5 separate regions of the Homo sapiens genome follow, and all the other regions are linked to region 4. Evidence: promoter capture Hi-C in 16 types of primary human blood cells and fetal thymus (Javierre and others, 2016). All regions are on one chromosome and are shown on one strand. The core of a region is centred on a gene start or on the middle of the fragment in contact, and the rest is flanking DNA. Distances in the headings are between cores, read along the strand shown.

Region 1 (3,938 bases), core at 983-3,482, 490 kb before region 4:
CCCACACTGGTCATTTTTAGTTGGTGCACAAGCTTATTTAAGGAGATGATTTTCCTTTCTTGCCTCATTTTCTACATATGAGATCACTGTGCCTTATTTTCCCCACCTATGTGACCCTTTTCTGCTTTGTCATTTTTGACCTCAAGGCAGGAAGAGATAGTAATCAGAGAAAGAATTGAAGAAGGATTTTTGTGGCATCAGAACTTTTGGAGTTGACTTGATGAGTTCCAAGTAGTGTTTGACTTTGTACTAAGCCATGGGCAGCATATTTAAAATGCTATCACATGAGCTAGAAATTGCTGAGAGGCTCAACTTGATATTGGAATGGTTTAGAATTGCCTGTTTGATTTGGTGTCTCCTGGGTGATACTTTCTTTGCTTTTCCTTTTGTTCTTACTTTTCTTTGGCTTATACACCCTCTATCCTATAATATTACAATAACCTTTACTTAGACTGAGTGAGAAGAAATTTGTTAAGCAAGGCTAACTTTTCTCTCTGTTTTTATAACTATTGCTTTTTGCTTACTTTTACTGTAGAATCACTCTGGTCCCTATCTAATATAGCTAAATGGAGAATAATTTCCTTTTAAGTAAACTTTAAGACATGTTGAGTTAGGAAATACAGCAATGTTGATGATGATTGGGAAAAGGGAAAAGTCTTACATATGGAAAATCTAACCAGAGCTGTGACAAAATTTTGATCTGATTGAAAGAAGAAAAGAGAAAATTGTTCCAAATAGCAACATGATAATGAACAAACCTGAAGCATAGCTTCTTGCAAGTTTCTACATTATGAATAACTTGCACCATCTTATCTTCCATTGCTTCATTTTTAAGTAATACAACAGACAGAAAACATGCAGCAGGAAGGACTAAATACCTTTTGAGAGAATGCTATTTGCAGCCAAGTTTTGTAAGGCTCAGGCATTATAGATAGATTAGATTAGATTCAAATGTATAATTCACAGTGGCTTCTTCTAGCAACAACATCTAAATGATGAGACTCAGTTGTTGCTTCTAATAGTAAAGGCAAAGAAAGAAATAATTGGAGAAGAGGAGGAGAGAGAAAACAGTAGAATTTGCGGGAAAAAATAAGCCTTACATATGCCTTTTTACTTATGCAAATTTGGAAAATGGAGCAGAGAGAAATGAATTAGGCAGCTGTGTGCTGCATGGAATATCCTAAGTGATCTGATAAATATGTATGTCGTACTTTACCTACTTAACACAGTGTCGTTTCAAAACAAAAGTATTGATTGTATTAATGAAATTCTATTGTATTACGGCCAGAGAGGTGATTCTCTTACAAAATATAAAAGAGGCTGGGTGCGGTGGCTCATGCTGTAATCCCAGGACTTTGGGAGGCCAAGGCGGGCAGATCATGAGGTCATGAGATCGAGACCATCCTGGCTAATATGGTGAAACCCCTGTCTCCACTAAAAATTACAAAAAATTAGCCGAGCATGGGGGCATGAGCCTGTAGTCGCAGCTACTCGGCAGACTGAGGCAGGAGAATCATTTGAACCCGGAAGTTGCAGTGAGCTGAGATCGTGCCACTGCACTCCAGCCTGGGTGACAGAGAGAGACTCTGTCTCAAAAAAAAAAAAAAAAAAAAAGTAAAAGTAGTTTTGTTTTTAGGTTAGCAAACTTTCCTTAGCTTTTATATACATGCCCCCTCCTTGCAAATTCTGCCTGCGAGTATAACTGATTAATCAATAATACACTCAATAAAATATTTTTATCTTGTATATATCCACTGTTTATTCTGATTGCCTTACTTTGGTGAACATAGTAGCCATGATTGGACATTTTATGTTGTTGACACAATGATCTAGTTTTACTACATGAGGGTACTGGAATTTAAAAGGAAAATAGCTTTTAAACTCAACTTGAATCTTTATCTCCAGTTGATGCAAAAGAGTGTCCTGAGTGCTTTTTAAAAGTACAAATGCTCAATCTCTAGGACTCTTTCACTAAACCAGAAACCCTGAAAAGGTAGTCTCAGTATTTGCATGCTCCATAAGTGTGACAGGTGAATCAGCTGATCAGGTTCCACTGGGCTGGAAATGGTTAAGGGATCTCCAATGGCATCTCAATTGATTACTTCCTCTGAAAACTGTTTCCTTTAAACTAATTAGCAGCCATCTGACCAAGGCATCATATTTCTTGTCTTTTACCTGGTTTTGTGCCCAAGGTCTCTGATTCTCAGTCCCCTAGGGGACAGAAACAAGAGATAGAATACTGTGTCATGGACTTGCTTGTGTCAGGGAAAAGAAGAAGAACTTTCCTCGTATGCATTATTGTGAGTCTGTCTTTTATAAAACTACCGTGCTTCTCAAGTCAGTGAGAGCAGCATTCAGATGAGTTGTGAGGATTAGGTGGTGATAGCACAGATGTCTCCTCAGCTACCTCTCTCTTTATCTTTCACCAGTAATAATATAACAAATGATGTTTTCACATTTAAAGTCATGATCCCAGGGAGGAAATTCTCACTGCAAGCTGTTGCCAGACTAGAAGCCACTTGCGCCAGAACATTTTATAGTCCTCCTTGGCTCTCTGACCACTCTTGAGATGGAGCCAGCATTTTACTCTATTTTGACTTGGGTTATAATGATTGTTTTCCCAACAATAATTATAACATTGTATACCAATCCTTTTCATTGCTGGCAAATATCTTTGACTCTTGTAATGCTAGTAAATTATTAGTCTAGGTATTTTATGATTAAAAAAGTATGAATTAAATATACAACTTGCCTATAAGGGGTGTATAGGCTAATAAGAAAAATAAATCACACATTAGTAATTAAAACTGAAAGGAAAGTCATTCATGCAGTAAGGGAAGTACAAGGTAACTGCTATGGCGGAGTTCAGTTGAGGAATAATGTACTTCTAGCTGGGAGCAAGAGATTGTGGGAGACATTGTAGAGAAGGTGATTTGTGAATCTGACTTTGAAATAAATCTAAACGGTGACCTCTAGAGATGTGGTTGTTGGCAGACAGAGCAAAGTGGCAAAGGCACAGGAAGGGTGAGTATGGAGGCCTTTATAGGAGGACTATGAATAGTGCAGATTGGCTACTGGAGAGTGGGGTCCAAATTAAAGAGAACCTTGGTTCTTAGCTTACGGCATTCAGACTTGCTCTGTGGTTAATTGGAGAGGCAGTAAAAGTATTTTCACTGAGAAGCACATTGTTTTAGTAAGATTATTCTGGCAGCAAGAAGTAAAAAGGGAAGAGACTAGAAAGAGGGAAGATATAGTTGAGGAAAAGATTGTCTACCTCTTGTCATGCTTTAAAACTAAACTCAGCTGGTGTGACTCAAAGATTTTTAAAATTTACAGAGCAGTCAGGGAATTAACTCTCTTGTGGAAAATTCCATTAATGACAGAATCTGGCAAGATAATGTCATTAATAGTAGAGTCTTTGAATTTCAAGACTATATCCAGATGATGTTTCTGCTACTACTACTTCATTTTTCTAGGATACATTTAATTCTTTAAAGTGCTTTTACATTTAAAGTGTGGTACTGCATCCTCACTTTATTTCAACAATGTACAGTTAAGATAATAGCTCACTGTAAGTTGCGGCACTAAAGTTCTACAGGAAGTAAGTGGCTTCCCTGGAAATATCACTCGATTTTGCAACTTGTAACATTTCTCTTTTCCCATTATCTTTCCCTTTTCTAATTCAAGTGAATACAGGAGTGCTGGCTTACCTCAGAAGTAGTCATTAGTTATGTATAAATCCTCTTTTTACTCATTTAAGGAAAGACACTTTTCCTTGTGTATACAACCACAAGTTCTACCTTTTATTTTAGGAAATCAGACTCTTCAGTCATCTGAAATGGTTAAAAAAAAATGTCTGAGAAGGAATAAAGGCATACTTATCCTTGGGAATAGAAGTGTACATAAAATTCCAATTAAATTATTATGTGAAAAAATCC
Region 2 (3,805 bases), core at 885-3,384, 440 kb before region 4:
GATTCCCTTAATGTAGGTGCTGCTTTTGCAGTACTCACTTCATCAATTGTCTCCTCTCTTTCCTGGATCTCCTGATTTGCATTGGATTCTTCACATTCTCAAACTTCTTTCACATTACCATTTTTTCATTTTTCTCTCTCTCGCACACCAAAGCAAACAAAACGTCTCCATTCACACTTCGTTCTCTTTGAATTACCACCCTAGTGAAAAAAATAATACAAGTTTTCCATCTCTGTTTCCTCACTATTCATGATCTATTGCAATTTGGCTTCATTATTACCTGTACATGAAAGTTCTTTTACTAAATTTACCTCTTGTCAAATCTAATGAAAATTTTCAGTTTTTCTTTTACATAACACTTTAAGTCATTCAACTCTTTTGCGTCACATTTGAACCATAAATCTGTTCTTATGATTTATTTACTGGTTTACTTTGTAGGCTCTTTTTTCTATGCCTGCTTTTGATATGTGCTGTTTCCCTTGTGCCCTTGGCATTTTTTTTTTTCAAAAACCCATTTTCATCCATGTTGAAGGCTCTACCTGCCACTTATCTGTTGATAGTCTAAAAATCTGTACCTCCAGTTCAAGCTGTTCCCTAGATTTCAAGACCCATTCATCCAATATGGGTATCCGAAAAGGCATCTCACACTCAAAATGTCCTTAATAGAATTCACATGGTTTCTGCACATACTGTGCCAGCTTTCAATCGATTGCTTCTCAGCTCCAATTCTTCTCTTTATTGCCTTCTCTATGATAATGGAGCTAGTTCCTGTCAGCATTTCTCCCTTGTCAGCTGGCATGATGTTAAGCTTTGTCAGTAGTGAATTTTGAAGGGCACTACAGGAAGGAGAGGTTTCTCTTCCTGGTTCATGTGCTCCTCTTTATAGGCTCCAGCAGCACACCATGGTCAGCAGCCAGCAGTGATTGACACTTTCCTGTGGGCCACTTTCCTCAGTACCCCAAGAGTAGCTTTCCAGTGGTTTCTGCATCCTGGCACCTCTTATGTGTCATTCCCTCCAGCATCCCAGCTGTTGGAATCCTAATGTGTTCTGCTGGTGTGGGATGCTAGCAAAATACTTTATCATCACTGGGCCATGGCTGCATTTCTCTGTCAAGGTCTGGAATTCAACTTTGGTGGGAGATGAAGGTCTCCTTCAGATTTGTTGCTTCCTTGGGTGTTATATCCTAGCCCCAGAGGTAGTGGCTGCTAGTGGATATCTACCATTTCTGTTGTCTTCAAAGTTTGCTTCTTAGTAGGTTATCCCTTATTTTAGCTAATAATTCTATGTGTTAACATTTCTCTATTTAAAGTACTGTGTGATTTCTGTCTCCCCATTTGACCTAGACCCATATGTATACCTCCTTTTTGTATTCTTCATCACAGAGACTATAACTACCAGAACTCATTCTTACTACTAATATCTAATCAATTGACAAGTCTTATTTACACATTCTATTTAATGCCTTTCTTATGCCTCTTCTCCACTTTATCCCTACTATCTTTGCCCTTGGTTATACCATATTATCTTTTACTTGGGCTCTTACAGTAGACTCCTATCACTGTGTTACAGCTAATTTTGATCAATATAATAAATATAACAGTCGTTTAGTTGATCTCTTATATTAGTCTTATAAATTAGACCTATCTGCAACTCTAGGGCATATTTTATATCAGATAAAAATGATTCTGCTTTGATTTTATGAAGACCTTTGAGAATACATCTAAATTGTTATGTAAGACTTACTTGTGACTGGTAAGCTCAGTTTAGATAATGAGCTCTCAAGAGCATACTATTGAACCAATTTAATTTGCTTCATAGCATCATTGCACAGTGGTTAAGAGTATGGACTTTGAAGCTAGCCTGCCTACTTTTCAGTCCTGACTCTAGTATTTACCAGCCATATGACCTTAGCAAAATGTTTAACTTCTTTGTACCTCAGTTTTCTTCTTTAACATCGGTTTAATAATATTACTTAATTCACTAAATTGTTAGGAGGATTAAAGTCTTAGAACATTTCTTGGCAATGAATAAATGTTAGCCATTCTTGTTATTGCATTGATTAAATAATTAGAAACTATATTTTTTCCAAAATATATTTAATGCTCTTGTTACTTGTTTTTCAGTATTCTATGATAATGATAAAGGTAATGATGATGATGATGATGATAATGATGATAATGATGATATGGAATGCAATCATTAAGGCTCAAACACGATTCTCTTCTCATTTTGGCAATGGCCTATAAAGCCCTGCCTCACAAGTAAGGGGAAACAAGGGAGAGAGTATGGATAAATTAATATGAACTGATCACAATTACAGGAAAACAAACTCAAAGGGCACAAAGGAACAGTCATGTGTACTGTTTTTGAATACAAAGGACTTTTTTTTTTTGTCCTCAGAAAACACTGAATAGCCTGTTGATTTCTTCCTGGCCCCAAATCTTTGGGTAGTACATTTCTTTTAATGAACTTGATGTTTTTATTTTCTAATTTAGATGATACTTGTTTAAAGCATTCCGCATTTCATCATTAAGAGCTCTTCTTTCAGCAAAAGCTCTCACATTATTAGAAACACTTCTGGGCAATTAAGAAAGGAGACTACATGAACTCATCCACTTGACAGGGCCTTTTTAAATGTTTTTTGAAAAGTTAGCTACAGCTATAATCATTTAATTACTTGATATTTGTCAAAACATTGCTGATTTTAGGTACTTTAATGACTGACAGCAAAGCAGGCAGAAAACTAGCACAACATCTGCCCACATGGAAATTACTTATTTGTGACAGACCTTTGCAACCAGCTCTCACAGACCATTCCAGCACTGGAAAGAAAGTGTCTACAGAAGGGCTGTAAAAAAAGCCCCAGCAACGTCAAGGACAACTGGACTTGAAAAATTTATTCATGACAAAGAGTATTGGAAAATTTCTGTGCCCTTTAATGTATTTAATGAAAGTATTTGGTTAAACTGTGATCTCAAGTATTAATTTCTACAGCCTTAAAATATTTGACTTTGTAGAATTTTCGTCTTTGTGTACTCTCAATCATCTCCAAATGGTAAGGCTCTTGCTTGGAGAAATTATGTGGCTCAAACATGTTACATTTCCAGATGGGCATGAAGAAGAATTTTATGGAATGTGATGGGTTCTAATTCGTCATAGGACAAAGTCGCCAATGAATAGCAAATGCAAAGCAGATTTTTCAAAAGGTGTTACCATTTTTCATTATTTACCTAGGAAATAGGTCTCCCCCAGGGTGGATAATCATTCCTTTTAGTAACTGATACAAAAGACTAACTGAAAAATCCTAAATTGAGATAAAAAAAGGAAAAATCTTACTTTCTGACCTCTGTTTAGTGTATTTTTCTCTCAGAATGAGAAATGTGTTTGCTATTTGATCTGTATGTGTGTGCTTATATAGGAATGGGTCTCAAAAATTTCCACATCAGTGAGAAATACCCAGGAAGCTTGTTTAAAATTAAAGTTGTAGATCTCATCCTGAGAGTGCTGGTGTAGAATTTGCAGATAATTCTGATGGAGGTGATCAGTAGACTACACTTTCAGAAAAACTAGTTTATGAACTAGAGAGGGAAAAACTGAATAATTTCAACTGAAAGAAGAGATCATTTGACTGTGTTATGGAAACCATGCCGGGTCCTAAAAATACAGAGATTATTCAGATACATTCACAGGAGGAATAAATTTTGAGCTGTGCTCACTCTCATAGCACTGGTAGGAAAACAGGGCCCCTCCCAGTCTTCTGTGCAGTTATTTAGTAAAAACAGAATAGCTCCAGGGGCTCTCTTC
Region 3 (3,950 bases), core at 629-3,128, 410 kb before region 4:
TGAGTTTTCTCTTTCTTGTTCTAATTATTTTGGGGTGATTCTTTGAGAGGAGAAAAAAGTGAAAATCTTTTAACTATTTATCTTGAAATCACTCATCTAATTGACTTAAAAAAAAGAAACTCCTTTAGACTAATATAACTATAAAAGAAGAAAAACATGTCTATTTCTTTCTCTTAGTAGCAAAACTACTACGATACTTGCATCAAACCTTACTTGAAGAAAAAAATCTAACCTGAAAATGAAGGCGAGTATAAATAGGACTATTTGTTTCTGACAAGTGCTTGAATGAGTGATACATATGCTGAGTATAGACATGCAAGGGTTCTAACACACAATAGAATACACTCTTACTCCTACCTCTTTCTTAGCTTAGATATTTTGTATCCCTGTTGCATTTGTATGCTGAATCTCACATGGGTAAGTATTCATATAATCTTTATAGAAATAAATAAAAATGTTACCTTCTTAGGATATTAGGTGGCAAAAAAGATTAATTCCATATTTATTGTTCATGTGTATACTGATACAGTCACTAGAGACGATACTTGGTGACTCACAAGATTAATTTTATTTTTATAAAATGGATCCTCTACAATGGATTACTTGCTGTATCTTGGAGCAAGGCAATTCTTGAGCTACTTCAAATATTTTTCCACTTTATTGGAGGCTTAGTATATATTATCCTTCAAATGTGCTATAAATCCGTTTAAATTAAAAATACTTTTATGCTTGCAGTTGGACGTCCTTTCACAGTTTTACAAAAAGAAGAATATAGCCATTCTATTTTATTTTACTTAAAACCATTTATTTAAATTCTTGTTGGAAAGTGGATTAGGTAACTACCTATGAGAATGATGTAGGTGATACTTTTATTGGGCCATCAGCCCTTTCCCCTCTCATCCCATTGCTCATTAAGAGACTTATCTGACCTTCAGGGTTTCTTGAGAGCCAAACCCTGGCAACGACTTCTGCAAATAACAAACAACAGAAGCTGGTTGGAGCGGCAGGGTAAGCAGACTGTCATTGGCAACTTTTTGGAATTATGTCAAAGCGATGCAGCAGCAATCCTTTAACATTGCTGCAGGCTTTTACCATGCCATCAAGCGCTAATCAATCAAGATGGGAAGATAGGCCCAGCACGATGGAATTAAAAAACTAGCAAGGTCATCATCCTACACAGCATTAGATGGTTTCCACCTGCCCCCCTCATCCTTTTTTTTTAGTATGTTTTCCCTAAAACTTTTAAATCTAGAGTAGGGAGAACGTCAGCATTTAAAAAGAACATCAGCGTTTAAAAAGAGACATTGTAAATATGGCTGTGAAGATCACATGCTCCAAAAGACAATTAGGTCAACATATTTCTTCTTCTTTTTTTTTTTTTTTTGCATGATGTAGGTTAAGAAAAGATTCCTACTAAAGAACGACTGAACTTACCTTACAGAATATATGGGATGGATCTGGAGGTGTATAGGATGTGTCTATATCTACATTGATAAACAAAAAATGAATTAGTGGTTGAAAGTGAAGAAGCTGGATAATTTAAGATGAGGAAAAGGCAAAACTACAGATAATTCATATTAAGCTTAGTATGTTGTTAAAACTCACTAGCTATCATTTTAGATAACTTTTATAATAGACAATAACAGTGTTAAATTTCTTTTGGAAGGTAAAAGGAAAGAAAAATTACCCTGATCATCAAGGTGCAATTGTAAGAACTTAATGAAATTTTCTTCTAGTTTAAGATATTACTATACACAGTAACATTTAGCAGATTATGTAAAGTAACTGATTTCATTTTCTAAGAATTTATTTCTTTAATTTTTAATTTTGCCACTATAAGATTCACCTAGCTTTATATTTAGCAGCAAATTTTATTTTTTGTTTTTGTGACAGAACCTTAAGAATACTGAATGATCTGTGCATGGGAGCCATCATTCTGCTAATTTCTTACAGGAATAAGAAATGTATATTGACTTGAAATCAAGTTTTAATTGTATGGCACATTTCTATACTAGTTTCCTAACACAGTATGCCAGCCATTGGACTTTGGAAAATAAATAATCCTCAGTAACAGGAATATAGATTAATTCACAACTTTTAACTGTGATAACTTTCTCTCTTTGGAAGACATTTTTAGAGACATAAAACTGAATACATCTACCAGCACTGTTCATTAAAGCTTATAGTAAACGACTAACCTTCCCACATCTCTGACACTGAAAACTGTCAGGATTGTTGATTTAGAAGAGGCTTATAGACAAGGAAATTCAGAGTCACAAAAAAAATTTAGAGATCATCTCTCAGCCAATACTGCCTAGATTTTTGCGTTTCTAAAATAACGCAGTCTTTATCCCTTTAAGTGATAAATAAAATGTTATTAAATACTTTGATGCTAATATTTACCCTTAGCACATGCACTGTATTAAAAAGTTCCTAAAGAAGCATAGCATGCTGAATCTTTTAAGGTTGGAAATCCATCTCTAAAGGAGAAATAGCCATCTTTCTTTCAAAGGATCATCTTAGCAGCTGTACTGTTCATTTTTGTCCATTTCTTGATATTGCCTCCATTAATTAGCTTCTTTTTCTTAGACTTGCTCGTAAGTCTAATGTCCTTTCACCAGCTTTGATTTCTTGTCCTTGTTTTGAAACATTTTCTTTCATTACTAAAATTCTCAGAATGAGCTACTCTTTTTGCACCTGTTTTATTTCCACTTATTGTGAAATCTTTGCATTTTTGATCTTTGACTCTCATATCCAACAAAAACAGTCTCCTGAAAGCTCTCACTTTCTGTTCACCAAATACAGCGACCACTTTCTTGACCTTAGTAGATTTTAATGTTCAGCAGCCTGCTGCGTTCTGAAACCACATTTAAATTCTCCCTGTGACCAAAGTTTCTTAGCATGCATTAGCCTTTCAAAACCTGGCTCCCAGCTCCTTTCTTGCACCTTCCCTGCAGCATCTCCAAATCCTCCACTCTCCTGGCGGTCCAGACTCTGCTGTCACCCCCTGTACTGGCACTGTCAGACCCTGCTGTTCTACTATTCTCTATTTGGACTGCCTGTTCCTGTCCTTGTCCCTTATGTAACTCCTGAACATTTGTTTTATTCATTTTATTCATCTTTCACCTAAATGCCATTTTCTTCAAAAACCTAACCTTCTATCCTTCAATTCAGAATTAATGGGTGTTTCTTGTGTACTTTCAGATATTGTATTTCATTGTAGTTCTTACATTCATTAATTCATTATGCTGGGTCAACCAGACACATAATATCAAGAGCTCACACTCTAGTGAAGAAACGTACTTGAAAAGATTTTAAAATGCTATTAAGTAGTATTGTAATGGTATGCACATTTGCTCTGGGAGGCTAATGGAGGGGCTGCCAAAATTGTGTGAGGGAGCTGAGTAATGCTTCCTGAATGTGAAGCATGAATTGGAGTTCACCTAGCAAAAAATATGGGAAGGGTTTTCTAGGGCTTTGTCCATCTATTCAGAAAACATTCACGTAACACCTATTATGTGCCAGGCATTGTATTAGACACTGAAGATTAAAAATCGAAAAGTTATAACATCAACAATGGTGATAAAAACACCATTGGCCCCTTCTTTCTTTCCTAAAGAAGACAGAGAACATTGACAAAAGAAAGTTTTTCTAAAATTCAGTCTGGACATGCTTTCGGAGTCTCTGCCGTATTCCTTTCATATGCTAGAGTTACATGTGTTAGCACATAGTAGGCACTCCAAAATATTTGTTGAAAATTGAGAACAAATGAATGAATACTCTTTACCCATAGTGGCTGTCATTGCCATCATAACTGCAGTCATGTATTTAAACAATTATATTTTGTGTGAGTATAAACACAAAATATGGAAGGTCTGAGGATCAGCTAACCCACCATTGTAGCAGCCAAAGATGGCTAAAAGAGGCAAGAGGGATTGAACAGAGTCCTA
Region 4 (4,036 bases), core at 318-2,817:
AACAGATGGTGCCCACTGCCATTGACTAGCTGCCCAACTCATACTCCTGTGTGGTAGCACAATTCTGGACATCTGACAGAGAGAAGCTATACCTTTATAGTATATCTGCCTTCTACTAGAACAGGCTGCTTCCCATGAAGCTGTTTAAAACTTAAGTCATCTTCTCCCCCTGTCCCCATAAATTAATTTTATCTCAAGGATCTCCTTTTGGCTTTTTTTATTGCTTCATGTCTACATACAAAATACAGTGGCATATTGAATCAATTATCTAAATGCTCTAGGCTGTAAATACACTTTAACCTGGAATGTCAAGATAATTAAGACAAAATTGGATTATTAAGATTATTATTAGTGAGGGCAAATGACATCTAAGATAGCCATGTTAAAAGTGGAGTATCATATTAAAAAGACAACTAGATCCCAGGGAACATCAATAGAGTTTAAGTCCATTGAACAGATACTGAATTCTTTTTCATAATCTGCCAAAAAAAGGTTAGCTTGAAAATTTTCTTTTAGTTTCTCAAATATCACACTGCTGCAGTACACGAACCTTTACTCATTAATAACTAAGGTCCTGATTTTTTTCATATGCTTTGCTCGAAGATGTAGTATTTTGCAGCCATAGACAGTCTTCTAAGATCTCTCCTAGTGTTAACCCACCTATCCTCACCTCTCCCTTGAGATTTTTCTTTATTTTTTGATGAACTATCTGGGCTTTTAAACTTTGTTAACCTTTTTTGAGGATACGGTCACTTAATCTCAATGTAATTTTACTTTCCACAGTCAAAAACTATTGTGTAATACTCATGCACTGGATTTAAATGACTGCTGCCTCTCCTTCCTTTCTTTTTATACTATTGTGGTCTAGGTAAGGCTGATTCTTCCATCATTTGAACCAACAGGCCAGGCTTGGGTTCTCATAAAGCAGACCTTCCAGCAGGAGCGACCAAAGGATGACACTGTCACCTGAAATTGGACTGCTGTTGTACCTGACTTGGGAACATCTTTGAATCAGACAGTAGAAGTGGCTGTCATTTTCAGGGACAGTAGAAAGTATGTTGGCTCTCATCTGCCAAGTAGGCAAACACAATCTTTTTTTTTTTTTTTTCCTTCCAACGTTCTAGGGAGCTCAGCCTCAGGGCTAGCCGCAGCCCCCCACACCCCGGGGCTGCGGTGGGCTGCGCGGTGGATCAGCCTCAGCAGCCCCTGCTCCAGCCTGTAGGGTGAACCGGCCGCTTTCCCAGCAAAGGAGCAATCGAGCTGAGGGTAGCGCCTCCTCCGCAGGAGGGGGCGGGAGCTCGGCTGAGAAAGCTTTCCTAGGGAGTTGCCTTAAAGAAAGAAAGCGGAATTGTCGATCACTCCAGTTGCCAGTTTTATACAATTTTAAGCAGTCGTCGCCACTCGTTTCCCCTTTGCAAAACTGCAAATCACCACCAACCTTGCATCAAATAGAAGTGGGGAGGGAAAAAAAAAGCAAATCTCCTTCTCCCTTCTCACCCTCCCTTTCTTCTCACCCTCCCTTCCTCTCTTACTCGCTCCTTCTCCCTCCCTCCCTTCTGCGGCTGCCGCTAGTCTCTCGGTCTGGCTCTCTCTCCGACGGGACTTAGCAACTTCTTATTTCTCAGCCCCTTGTCCATTTTTTTTTTTCCATCCTTTGCCATGAATTGGATTGACAGAGGCGGGGGAGGCTTTGCTTTCTGCCCCAGGGAATGGCGATTCGCGTCCTGGGGCCGTGCCGGGGAGAATCGGCCGAGGAGAAAGAAAGAGTGATAGAAAAAGAGCTGCAGGAAGGAGGAGAAGGGAGACCTCCATCTGCCGCGGGCCCGGCGCGCTGCAGCGCAGCGCAGCGCCGAGCTGCGCCTCGGAATGGCCCGGAGCCCGCCCTGCGCCCCCGGCTCCTCCAGCGTCAGCGGCTCCTGCGCGCGGGATGCATTGGGCAATTTTTGAAATCCTGAAGTAGGAAGAGACCCCGGAGGATATAAGTCGGGGGTGGGGGTGGAGCAGAGAATCTGTGAAAGATATTCAAAGAGAGAAAAGGGGAATCCTGATCGTTTCTGCCCGTGCTTGTTTTCAACTTGAGCGTGCTAGCCTTTAACTTGAAGAAGTCTCATTGGAGCATCTAGCATTCTCCAGGAGTTATTCGAAAGCTGAAACTTTCAGTGGATTGTGGGCCTGGGGAGAAGAAGGATTCCGAGGGTGGAATTGGGAAGAGCGTGCGTGCGTGTGTGTGTGTGTGTGTGTGCGCGCGCGCGCGTGGGTCGGGGCGGGGGCGTCGGGGGGCCACTGGGAATTCAGTGAAGAGGGCACCCTATACCATGGCAGTGCCCGGCGACGCTGCACGAGTCAGGGACAAGCCCGTCCACAGTGGGGTGAGTCAAGCCCCCACGGCGGGCCGGGACTGCCACCATCGTGCGGACCCCGCATCGCCGCGGGACTCGGGCTGCCGTGGCTGCTGGGGAGACCTGGTGCTGCAGCCGCTCCGGAGCTCTCGGAAACTTTCCTCCGCGCTGTGCGCGGGCTCCCTGTCCTTTCTGCTGGCGCTGCTGGTGAGGCTGGTCCGCGGGGAGGTCGGCTGTGACCTGGAGCAGTGTAAGGAGGCGGCGGCGGCGGAGGAGGAGGAAGCAGCCCCGGGAGCAGAAGGGGGCGTCTTCCCGGGGCCTCGGGGAGGTGCTCCCGGGGGCGGTGCGCGGCTCAGCCCCTGGCTGCAGCCCTCGGCGCTGCTCTTCAGTCTCCTGTGTGCCTTCTTCTGGATGGGCTTGTACCTCCTGCGCGCCGGGGTGCGCCTGCCTCTGGCTGTCGCGCTGCTGGCCGCCTGCTGCGGGGGGGAAGCGCTCGTCCAGATTGGGCTGGGCGTCGGGGAGGATCACTTACTCTCACTCCCCGCCGCGGGGGTGGTGCTCAGCTGCTTGGCCGCCGCGACATGGCTGGTGCTGAGGCTGAGGCTGGGCGTCCTCATGATCGCCTTGACTAGCGCGGTCAGGACCGTGTCCCTCATTTCCTTAGAGAGGTTCAAGGTCGCCTGGAGACCTTACCTGGCGTACCTGGCCGGCGTGCTGGGGATCCTCTTGGCCAGGTACGTGGAACAAATCTTGCCGCAGTCCGCGGAGGCGGCTCCAAGGGAGCATTTGGGGTCCCAGCTGATTGCTGGGACCAAGGAAGATATCCCGGTGTTTAAGAGGAGGAGGCGGTCCAGCTCCGTCGTGTCCGCCGAGATGTCCGGCTGCAGCAGCAAGTCCCATCGGAGGACCTCCCTGCCCTGTATACCGAGGGAACAGGTAAGCACTGGCAACTCCTCTCTCGGCTCTTGGAAACTTGAAACACTTGGCAACCGGCGCAGAGTGGAGAGAATCCGAGCGCTGGGAACTAAAGGGAAGATAGCCTAGAAAACTGGTCTAACTTCAGAATTAAGAAACTAGCAGGTTTTTTTTTTGTTTTTTTTGTTTTTTTTTTTTTGTTTTTTTGCCCTCTCTTTCACACAGTAGTTTTATAACCTGAACGACTGAAACACAATTAACAAAACTAGATGGCATGTGTAGGGTCTTCCACAGCTGGGCCAACTTTTTAGATCTGCTACACCTGGTGTATGGCTTGCCTACTCTTTTCAGTACTCTTACGCTTTCCTTCCTTAGCAGAAATTTTAGAATTAAGTTTAGATTTTAGCAATGAGTGATTTTTTTAACACATAGATTTTACTAGATTTCTACTTTTTAAAAAGTAAAATCTTTTTAATGAAATGATATTAAACATTTATGAAAACCAGTAAAAAGATTCTAGAGCAAAGCAAGCTGTGCTTGAAGGTGAGGAATTGATACACATTTTCTGGTTTTGCAGTAAGTTTTATTTGGAGAGACTGCAGCTGATGGTGCCCAATTTGTTTTTAAATATAATTTAGGGGCATACATTATTACATGCTAGTGTGTTTTGTATCACAAACTTCAACTTGGGGAATAATATGTCTGAACTTTGGAATTGTTCAAAATTGTCAACTGCGTTTTAGTGTCAACTAAAAACAAAACAGTTCTCTTTAGTATGTGCA
Region 5 (4,184 bases), core at 346-2,845, 470 kb before region 4:
CTGGCTCTTTATTTTTGTAGAGATGTTGCCAAGGCTGGTCTTGAACTCCTGGCTTTAAGCAATCTTCTTGCATTTGCCTCCCAAAGTGTTGAGATTATAGGTGTGAGCCACCATTCCTGGCCCTGGCATTTCATAATTCCCAGATGCACTTGCTACACCTAAGCATTTTTGTTTTTGTTTGAATTTTCAGTGAGAGCTCCCTTTGCCTCATCAAATTTCCTCTCCCAAACCCTAATCTCTTAACAAAACTGGAGTTCTCTGTCTGTATTTACAGCTTCTCTCTCCTTTTGCTAGATTAATGAGAAGCAGTTTCTCTATTAGTGAGTGGAAAAAATTGGAATTTGCTGTTGCCCACAAGCCATTCAATAAAGAGCTACACTATTTCCCTATTTCCTTAGGAGGATCAATGAGTATTTTTTTGGTGATAAAATATGGCATATATAACTGGGCAACAATAAAATCTTGAGAAATTAAGGATTTATTTATAGTTCCTCTGAAAATTGCCTACGTTTATTCATATATTTATAGTATTACAAAGTTACATATGAAGCAATAACTTACTGATACATTTGTAAAGACTGCCTAAGGAATTCAAGAAGAAGAACTTAGACATTTTGATACCCACAAAGGGCCAAGTTATTAAAACAACTTGAAACCAGTTGTCTATATAATGAAGACTACCTAAAGGAAAAAAATTACATGTGGCCACTGACTGTGAGCTTTCATTGTCTTTGCAAAGCAATTTATTAAAAGATTGGAAATGTGAAAGAGAGCTGGCACAGTTACAAACTTCAGAGCATGCTGCACATGGTAAACTATTGGCAAACAAAGCATAGGACAAATCGTGGGCATACAAATTAATGTACAAAGGAAAGTCTTGCAGACATATGATTGAAATTCCTGATTAAGTATTTCAATTTAAACTCTACTGAATTTGGGTACTCCCACAGCAAAATCTTATCTTGCTTCTGTTAGAAAGAATTATTGAAGAAGTGTCCAGTTAAAGCTGAAATGATTATGACAAGCCTGTGTTATAACTATGTGGTAAATGTCTAGTCTTAGCTCTAATTGGTCTTATTTTAATGTGTTTATTGTTTAATTGCTTGTGAGAATGATTTATTCTTTCATAGAACTGAGATTAATGGTAACTGGCAGCTTTATTGGCATTGCTATCAGAGAAATGACCAAAAGTCTCAAAATAGAATTGAGAAGACAGATTCTAGGCACAGGGTAATGTCAGACTAATATAGCTACATGATAACTGTATTTTAAAAGTGTTACTACTGCAACGTTTTTTAGTGTGTCCATTAATGTCATTTTTCATTTTCATTTTTTAATGTATGGGGTTGAGATGATACTATGGGATTGAGTATAATTGCCTTTTATAGAATGCGTGGGACTGATATTTTCTAAAAATGGACAAAAATCCAGCACTTAAAGCCATTAATTTGAAACCCTAAGGTTTCTTATATCTTCTGTAGAATAATATTTTTGGTGAAAGTTTGGAAAACTATGTGCAAGGATAACATCTTTTGGGTATTCAATTTTGTTAGATTGCTCTAAGCCTTTACGTATATTTGGAATCTACGTCATATATGTACAAAAGTGGCCTTGCCACTTACATAGATTCATCTGTTGGTAGATAGAAAAAAACCCGATATATCCTTTGCATATTCATGTTATTGTTGTGTTTTCTATGTCAGGTCAGATTTTCATATTAACTAGCTTTGGAGGTGGGCATTGGAGAAGACTGCCATTCCACATATTACGCATTTTTAAATATAAATTCAGATTGTTACAATACAGCTAAACATGATGAGAGGTCTTATATTCTTCAGGGAACAAAGTTCAATAATACAGGGAATGCATTTAAATGGGAAAATATAACCTATAAAATATAAGAAATTGCACGATAGCTATTTGGTAGAACAGAATGAAAACTCAAGATTTCAGTGAAGAAGAACCTAGAAAATATATTACTTTGTTTTCTATTGTTTTTTCTTTATTATGAAATATAATATGTATGTAGAAAAATGTATAAAACAAATACTTGTCATGTGGACAAATAATTATGTGGTAAACACTGTACAATCACCATTGAGGTCAAGAAATACAATGTAGCCAGCTCCCAGGAAGTCCTCAACCATGTTTGTCCCTCTCTCATCACAACCTCATCTCTTTGACCTAGAGATATCCATTCTGTGGTCTTTTCTCATAAAACTGTAAAGAAAAGTAGGGAGCACTAATCCCTCATATCCATCTCTAAAAACTGCATTTTAGTTTAGTTGTTTCTTTAAAAAAGAAACTCTGCTTGAATGGCCTCATATATTTCTTTTTGCCTACCAACTGTATCTCAGTATTACATTTATGAGACATATTCACAGTCATATATGCTATAGCATAAAGTTTATTTTCATTGCTGTATAGTATTTCATTGTATGACTACACCACATTTATATCTGTCCTACCATTGGAAGACATTTGGCTTGTTTCCAGCTGTGACTGTCCTTGTACTTGTATTCGAGTGTGCATTTATACTAATTTCTCTAGACATGAAATTGTTAAGTGGAAGGAATGCAAATCTTCAATTTTACCAAAAAATGTCAAATGGTTTTCCAGCAATATATGGGATTTCCCATTGCCACATTCTTACCAGCACTTAGTATAGTTAAATTTTTAAAATTTCTGTTAGCCTGATGAATATATAATGATTGTGGAAATTTGCATGTCCCTTATTACTAATGAAATTGAGCAACATTTTGTACATTTATTTGTCATTTAGTTTTTTTTGTTATTTTGCCTAGTTACAATTTTGCCCATTTTTCTTCTGTATTATCTTTTAAAAATTTATTTATAGAAATGATTTTAATATTCCAGTTACCAGTTTTTTGTTTGTCCATTGCAAATATCTTTCTCTCTTTTTTGTAATTTTTTTCTTTATAGTTCTTTAGATAAGAAGATGTCCTTAACGTTACATAAAAAATGTATCAATCACTCCTTCATGAATAATTTTGTTTGCACCTTATTTAAGAAATCTTGGCTGAGCGTGGTGGCTCATGCCTGTAATCCCAGCACTTTGGGAGGCCGAGGCAGGCAGATCACCTGAGGTCAGGAGTTCAAGACCAGCCTGGCTAACATAGTGAAACCCCATTTCTACTAAAAATACAAAAAATTAGCTAAGTGTGGTGGCACGCACCTGTAATCCCAGCTTCTTGGGAGGCTGAGGCAGGAGAATTGCTTGAACCCAGGAGGCGGAGGTTTCACTGAACCAAGATCGTGCCATTGCACTCCAGCTTGGGCAACAAGAGTGAAACTCTGTCTCAAAAAAAAGAAAGAAAGAAAGAAAGAAAGAAAGAAAGAAAGAAAGAAATCTTTCCCTACCTTAAAGTCATATAGATATGTTTCTCTATTATTTTATAAATACTTATAATTTTACCGTTTTAATATTGGTCTTTATCTGATTGGCTTTAGTACATTTTGTGACTAAGGGTCTGATTTTATTTTACCCTACATGGATATTCAATTTTCCTGGCACCATTTACTTCAAAAGCTGCCATGACTTTACTAATAGATTCTGGTATTTCTGTCATATACAGATGCCCATACCAATGTGGCCTGACTCTGAGCTCTCTGTCACTGGGCTAGTACCACACTGTTTTATTTACTTCAGTTTTAAAATAAGTCTTGACATCTGTTATAGCAAGTTCCCTTACCTTGTACTTCTTCAAAAGTATTTTGGCTATTCTTGACTTTAGAACTTTTGTGTATATTTTAGAATCAGCTTGTCAAACTCTATAAAATGACTATTGAAATTTTGTTTGCAATTGAATTGAATCCATTCAGCTGGGAAGAATTGACATCGCTATAATAGGGAGCTATCAACCCCTGAACATGTTTTTAATTTCCATTTATTAGGTCCTTTTTACTGTTTCTCAATTAGTTGCATAAATTTCTCTATAGAAGTCTTATATATATGCTCATTGATTTATTTTTAGGTACTTTTTATTTTTGATACTATTGTAAATAGTACCACTTTTAATTTTATTTTATAATTGTTTGTAGAAATAAGTTTTTATATTGATTTTTGTATCCAGGAACAATGCTAAGTTTTCCTCATTAAAAAACTATTTGTAGGTTTTTTTGGATTTTATATAAATGCAGTTATTTCCTCTGTAAATAATGAC

What was found. The method cuts DNA at HindIII sites, captures the fragments that hold promoters and counts their contacts. A CHiCAGO score of 5 or more calls a contact.
Region 1: a contact is called between a fragment that was not itself captured here and the fragment with the promoter of PDE3A in region 4, in 1 of 17 cell types (monocytes). The highest score is 6.6, in monocytes.
Region 2: a fragment that was not itself captured here is called in contact with the fragment with the promoter of PDE3A in region 4 in 1 of 17 cell types (megakaryocytes); the score reaches 7.0 in megakaryocytes.
Region 3: a contact is called between a fragment that was not itself captured here and the fragment with the promoter of PDE3A in region 4, in 1 of 17 cell types (megakaryocytes). The highest score is 7.0, in megakaryocytes.
Region 5: a fragment that was not itself captured here is called in contact with the fragment with the promoter of PDE3A in region 4 in 1 of 17 cell types (monocytes); the score reaches 5.5 in monocytes.

The regions. Positions count from the first base shown.
Region 1 is chr12:19,880,082-19,884,019 of GRCh38, forward strand. No RefSeq gene overlaps it. Among named protein-coding and RNA genes, the nearest start is that of LINC02398, 130 kb to the right of the region's middle. The HindIII fragment of the contact is 4,405 bases long and covers 31-3,938 here.
Region 2 is chr12:19,928,847-19,932,651 of GRCh38, forward strand. No RefSeq gene overlaps it. Among named protein-coding and RNA genes, the nearest start is that of LINC02398, 84 kb to the right of the region's middle. The HindIII fragment of the contact is 2,657 bases long and covers 807-3,463 here.
Region 3 is chr12:19,961,346-19,965,295 of GRCh38, forward strand. No RefSeq gene overlaps it. Among named protein-coding and RNA genes, the nearest start is that of LINC02398, 51 kb to the right of the region's middle. The HindIII fragment of the contact is 597 bases long and covers 1,581-2,177 here.
Region 4 is chr12:20,366,970-20,371,005 of GRCh38, forward strand. PDE3A (phosphodiesterase 3A) reads left to right here and starts at 1,568. Exons shown (of 16, transcript NM_000921.5): 1 at 1,568-3,275. The coding sequence starts at 2,316. PDE3A-AS1 (PDE3A antisense RNA 1) reads right to left here and starts at 3,287. Exons shown (of 2, transcript NR_186033.1): 1 at 2,872-3,287. RefSeq lists a silencer at 2,606-2,900. The HindIII fragment of the contact is 3,200 bases long and covers 1,310-4,036 here.
Region 5 is chr12:19,896,986-19,901,169 of GRCh38, forward strand. No RefSeq gene overlaps it. Among named protein-coding and RNA genes, the nearest start is that of LINC02398, 120 kb to the right of the region's middle. The HindIII fragment of the contact is 9,213 bases long and covers 1-4,184 here.